2 separate regions of the Homo sapiens genome follow, and region 2 is linked to region 1. Evidence: promoter capture Hi-C in 16 types of primary human blood cells and fetal thymus (Javierre and others, 2016). All regions are on one chromosome and are shown on one strand. The core of a region is centred on a gene start or on the middle of the fragment in contact, and the rest is flanking DNA. Distances in the headings are between cores, read along the strand shown.

Region 1 (2,823 bases), core at 136-2,635:
TCAATTCAATTCAACGATGAGTTATTTGTGTAAGGCATTGTTCTAGGTGCTGGGGATACTCCAGGATACAAAACAAACAAAAATCCCCGTCTTCATGGAAATACAAATTTTCATTAAAAGTGTACTGAAATTATATTTTTTGTCATCATGCATTTTATCAATTAAATGAAACTAAACATATAACTTATCAAGCGACAGCTCAGGAATAATTTTGCTATTTAAAATAGCAAGGGATTTTCTATTTATTTGCCATAAAAATGTCCATTTTGTTATAATGGATATATCTGGAAACCACTGATACTATTTAACTCTGAGGAATTTAGTTATCACAAGAACATGATCCATGAGGGAGGAGTTTATTTGCAGTGAAGTCCAACCTGTTAATGACAATATTTGGATCATAAAGGAAGTATTGGGCAATCTCCTGGGGTAATCCCACTCATCCATCCCACAGCTCAGTGCCAATTATAATGACTACCTAAGTAAATTAGGATTGCAATTTTATTGACAATTCTGATGAGGAATCTCAGGAGCACGATTTTCGGCAGAGACGCAGATTACTTCATCTCTTGTTTACCTTTTGACTCTGGGACTCTCTGAGGTTCCTTCTAAAGCTGTTACAGAAGAGGGAACTGTTTGTCCAATCAGGGAGCAAAGTCACATTTGACCTCGAATTTCAGCCCTTAGGATCCTCAGGGAATAAACACTCATGCACTTAGTGCTAGTCAAAGACTGCATGATTATTTAACTAAAAAAATTCACATTCCAAGAAGTTAACTGTCAGTAAGATAGGTTTTGGTCTTTCTCATCACATCTTTCCCTTCACAGGCCACCAGTGCCAGTTCGAATTCCCGTCCCCAGCGGCAACCCTTCCGGGTCCAGGCACAGGTACGCGGTGAGAAATATTATTCTCTCTAATAGCAAACGAGGAAAACGAAGGGGGAAGGAGATGGGCCTGGGATACAAAGTTCTGGCACTGCTCTTCGCACCTCACCTCGCTGTTTCTTCCCTCCTAGTCTTCAAGTCCCTTGTCTCCCCGGTCTCACTGCCGCTCTTCCCTCGCTCCCTTCCCGCCGCCTCACTCAAAAGCTACGAACCAGTCGCGGCCGTCAGACTACATTGCCCACAATGCCACGCGCTGGCCAGTCTCGCGTGGGGTTTTCCCTCAGCTGCTGTTATAATTAATGTTAATCAAACCCACATTTCTAGGAAGGAGCCGAGTTATTATCTGCCTCTCCGATAGGATGCCTCTTTGTCTTCACCTGCCATTCCCGCTGTTTCGTGAAGAATCCTCTGTAAAGGGAAATTTGTTCAGGCGACTGCTGTGGCCACCCTCTGCCTCCTCCGGCCTCTGCCCCTGGGAGGTCCCCGGGGGCCTGGGAGTGTCATTGGCGTATGACCGCAACCCTTGCCGCTGCCGCTGACATCGCTACCATGGTCTCCGGCAGCAGCGGCCTCGCCGCCGCCCGTCTCCTGTCGCGCAGCTTCCTCCGTGAGTCCAGCCAGTACTGTCTTCCTGGCGCCCGCGGGTTATTGGCCCCGCCGGACCCAACCTCCTGGCCCAGGCCGCGGCTGGGCCCTCAGGGCTGGACCTCGGCGGGGGCCTGGGAGCCGCTTGGGATTCCGGCTTCGAGTCGGGGACCCCTACGGTGGAAGGAGCTTTGCTGGATACGTGGGGCGGGGGGCATGACTTAGGCCGCTGGCAGATGGAGATATTGGGTGGCTGAGCCAGGATTCGGGTCCGGGAGCCCTGCAAATTTGGGAGCTTGCTCTCGGCCCCGCGGTGACAAATGACAGGATGGGGGTGGCGTCTAGACTGGCCTTATTTGGAGTTGGGGATGAAGAGGTCCAAGGTGAACTTGGTGGGGAAGGTAAGGGTCTGGGTTGAGAGGTAGAGGAAGAGTGTCTCAGTAGGAAGTTGGGGGATGAGGCTGTCCCTAGTACGGAAAGGTCCTGCACTTCGAATTCCCCCTCTGCAGGATTGTATGTCAGGGAAAGATGGTTTCTGCACACGGAGTGGGGTCGGCATAGCCGCATAGACTACTAGAAGCTTATGGTTGGCTGGGACCTAAACCAGCTTATTTGCAGTGTCTCCACCAGGCGATTTGTGGACACATCCGTTCCCGAAAACTTAGTACCCAAGGTTGCTAGTCTTTGAGACACGCTGACTATGGAAAATTCTTGCCATATTCAAAGTCTCTGTGCTTGTCAGGTAGGTTATAGTAGAAAGAAACTTTGGAATCAGCCACATCAGGGTTTGAAGTCTGGCTAGTCCCTTTTCAGTCTGTGTAATAACCCTGGACACTTAATCTGTTTTTCAGTGTTTCCAATCACATGAAAATATTAACACATTTTAAGGGGCCTGAAGCACCATCACTTGTAAGGTGGACCATTATTTTGTTTACCACTAACAATGAAGAACGATTGCTTATTAAAACTGTGACACACCAGTGGTTGTCACATGTATCCTGGTTTTTTAAAAAGTGAAAAAAAATGTGCATTTTAGCAATGATGATGTACAGGATGATCTGGGTTCACTGCAGAATAAGTGGAGCAATTTATATAAAGCATCTCGTATGTAACAAACACTCAAAGTTAGTTTTCTTTTTCCGCTTTGCTCTTAATTCTGCTTGTACTGAATATTTTATGAGACTTAATTCCTTTCTTGAGAAGATTACATTCTGAAAGTGTACATTGATGAGTGTGCACTCAATAGCTAACACTTAGTTGCCAATCACTTGAGGACAAAGGTCTGGCTAGATAACGTTAGCAAGTATGAAATGGTTTGTTTGGTAAAGCTTTCTGGAGATTCTTGAGAGTGTT
Region 2 (2,823 bases), core at 89-2,588, 530 kb before region 1:
CTGGTCTCCTCACTGTTGTCCCACCTACCTCTCTCCAACACACTGCATGTTTTCTTAGTTCTGCACTTTACCTCCTACATTCTCTCACTTGGCGGATCCCCTTCCCCCAACTCATCCTATAAAAATACGATACTTCTTCAAGTCTTGAGTTTAAATGCCACCCTAAGGAAATCTCTTCTCTGACACCCAAATAACACCTCATTCCACTTGCCAACACTACAGAACTTGTAGTAAATGAGCTGACACTTTTAATTGCCCCAGTCATACAAGGGTTATTTTATTTTAAATACTTAGACCTTATTGCTTCAGTCATACCACATACTTTAGGAGGAAAAATTCTAAGAGTTTTCTAAATGCCTCATAGTACTTATCATAATACCTTGCACATAAGGACCCAAAGTTTTAGGTTAGACATCCAAGGCCAGTGTTTTTCAATAGGAGGTGACAATCCATGAATAGAATGTGAAATCAATCTAGAAGGTCACAACTAGTATTTTGGTTTTTAATGAAGCAGAATAGAAAACAAAGTATATGTTTCAAAGTAGTGATAAGTACTATTTTGCATTACTCTTGCTTCATTACATATGTATGTGACTACTGCATCAGAATATAAAATATATTTCTGTGTTATATTTTTTTAAAAGTTTGAGAGCTGCTAATGTATGTAGATGACCTAGTTTCTAGGCCCAAGGGTTTTTTTTTTTTGAGATGGAGTCTGGCTCTGTCACCCAGGCTGGAGTGCAGTGACACAATCTCGGCTCACTGCAACCTCCGCCTTCTGGTTTCAAGCTATTCTCCTGCCTCAGTCTCCCCAGTAGCTGGGATTACAGGCACTTACTGCCACACCCAGCTAATTTTTGTATTTTTAGTAGAGACGGGGTTTCACCATGTTGGCCAGGCTGGTCTCAAACTCCTGACCTCGTGAGCCGCCTGCCTGGGCTTCCCAAAGTGCTAAGATTAGAGGCGTGAGCCACCGCGCCAGGCCAGGCCCAAGGGTTTTACATTCAAACTAGGAAGATTCACCTTCCACCAAACCCCACACCCTTCAGGAAACATCAGTTAAATAGAGTAATAGAGTAACAGGGGTCAAGAAAGACAAAGCTTAAAAGAACGGTAAATGTAGGGAAAGTTTGTAAAGAAATGTTCTTAGAGATGTTTGGGACACAAACTGAGTATGTACTTTCCACCCCCTGCCATTTAGTTAGTCAAAAAGACCTTTCTATAGAAGCAGGGCTTCCGAAATGTGTTTCTCAAAGCATTCACAGTTCAACAGTCCTCAACACAGCCTACAATGCGAGGGTGTCCAAGATCTGGCTCGAACTACGCCAACTTCACTTCCTACCCCTTTCCACCCCAATCATTGCCCTCCAGCCACATGGCCTCTGTGCTGTTCCAAGAACATTCCAATTTCAGGACCTCTACACTTGCTGTATCCTCAGTCGTATTTTTTTTTCCTTTAAATCTCTCTCATTTAACTATGGCTTTTCCTTAAATGTCCATCTTCAGATAGGCTTTTCCTGACCACCCTATCTAAAGTAGCCCATACTCTGGCCGGCCATGGTGGCTCAAGCTTGTAATCCCAACACTTTGGGAGGCTGAGGCAAGGGGATTGAGCCCAAGAGTTCGAGGCCATCCTGGGCAACATAGTGAGGCCCCAACTTCACAAAATAAATAAATAATAGAAGTTTCTTTCTTTCTTTCTTTCTTTTTGAGACAGAGTTTTACTTGCTGCCCAGGCTGGACTGGAGTGCAATGGCGCAATCTTGGCTCACCGCAACCTCTGCCTCCCGGGTTCAAGCAATTCTCCTGCCTCAGCCTCCCGAGTAGCTAGGATTATGGGCATGCGCCACCACACCCAGGTTATTTTGTATTTTTAGTAGTGACGGGGTTTCTTCATGTTGGTCAGGCTGGTCTCGAACTCCTCACCTCAGATGAGCCACCCACCTCAGCCTCCCAAAGTGCTGGGATTACAGGTGTGAGCCACCGTACCCAGCCTCTGCTAAGCTTCTTTAAATATAAAAGAAAAAAATAAATAAAAGGTCATGAAACCAGTATATGTTAAAAAATAATTTTAAGGTGAAAAAGAAATGAAAAATCTAAGTTCTTAGGACAGAAACTGAAGCAGAAATCCACAGCCAAGTGTGATGGCTCACATCTGTAATCGTAGCACTTTGGGAGGCTGAGGCGGGAAAATTGCTTGAGCTCAGGAGTTTGAGACCAGCCTTGGCAACACAGCAAGACCCCATCCCTACAAAAAATATATATAGAGTGTGGGCTACTTTATTTACTTATTTTTTCAAAGAAACTTCTATTATTTATTTACTTATTTTGTGAAGATGGGGTCTTACCATGTTGCCCAGCTTTGTCTCAAACAATCCTCCTTCCTCAGCCTCCCAAAGTGCTGGGATTACAAGCATGAGCCACCATGGCCAGCCAGAGTATGAGCTACTTTAGACAGGGTGGTCAGCAAAAGCCTAGCAGACCCTCAACGCATAAATGTGAATATGTTTTTCAACTGAGGCATTTTTTAAATGAAAATTTAGCATTTGAATTAAAATATGATGAATGTAAAATTTAAGATTTAAGACTTTGGCTGGGAATAGGGACTCACTCCTGTAATCCCAGCACTGTAGGAGACCAAGGTAGGATTGCTTGAGGTCAGGAGCTCAGGACCTGCCTGGGCAACATAGGGTGACTCCATCTCTATAAAAAATACAAAAGTCAGCCGGACGCAGTGGCTCACGCCTGTAATCCCAACACTTTGGGAGGCCAAGGTGGGTGGATCACCTGAGGTTAGGAGTTCAAGACCAGCCTGGCCAACAC

Evidence for each region. The method cuts DNA at HindIII sites, captures the fragments that hold promoters and counts their contacts. A CHiCAGO score of 5 or more calls a contact.
Region 2: a fragment that was not itself captured here is called in contact with the fragment with the promoter of SUCLG1 in region 1 in 4 of 17 cell types (naive CD8 T cells, total CD4 T cells, total B cells and 1 more); the score reaches 8.4 in naive CD8 T cells.

What each region holds. Positions count from the first base shown.
Region 1 is chr2:84,457,842-84,460,664 of GRCh38, reverse strand. SUCLG1 (succinate-CoA ligase GDP/ADP-forming subunit alpha) reads left to right here and starts at 1,385. Exons shown (of 9, transcript NM_003849.4): 1 at 1,385-1,492. The coding sequence starts at 1,396. It also overlaps a transcript of DNAH6 not described here. RefSeq lists a silencer at 839-1,028 and an enhancer at 1,209-1,348. The HindIII fragment of the contact is 6,917 bases long and covers 1-2,052 here.
Region 2 is chr2:84,983,711-84,986,533 of GRCh38, reverse strand. The region is part of intron 1 of KCMF1 (potassium channel modulatory factor 1); the gene reads right to left. Among named protein-coding and RNA genes, the nearest start is that of KCMF1, 14 kb to the right of the region's middle. The HindIII fragment of the contact is 469 bases long and covers 1,104-1,572 here.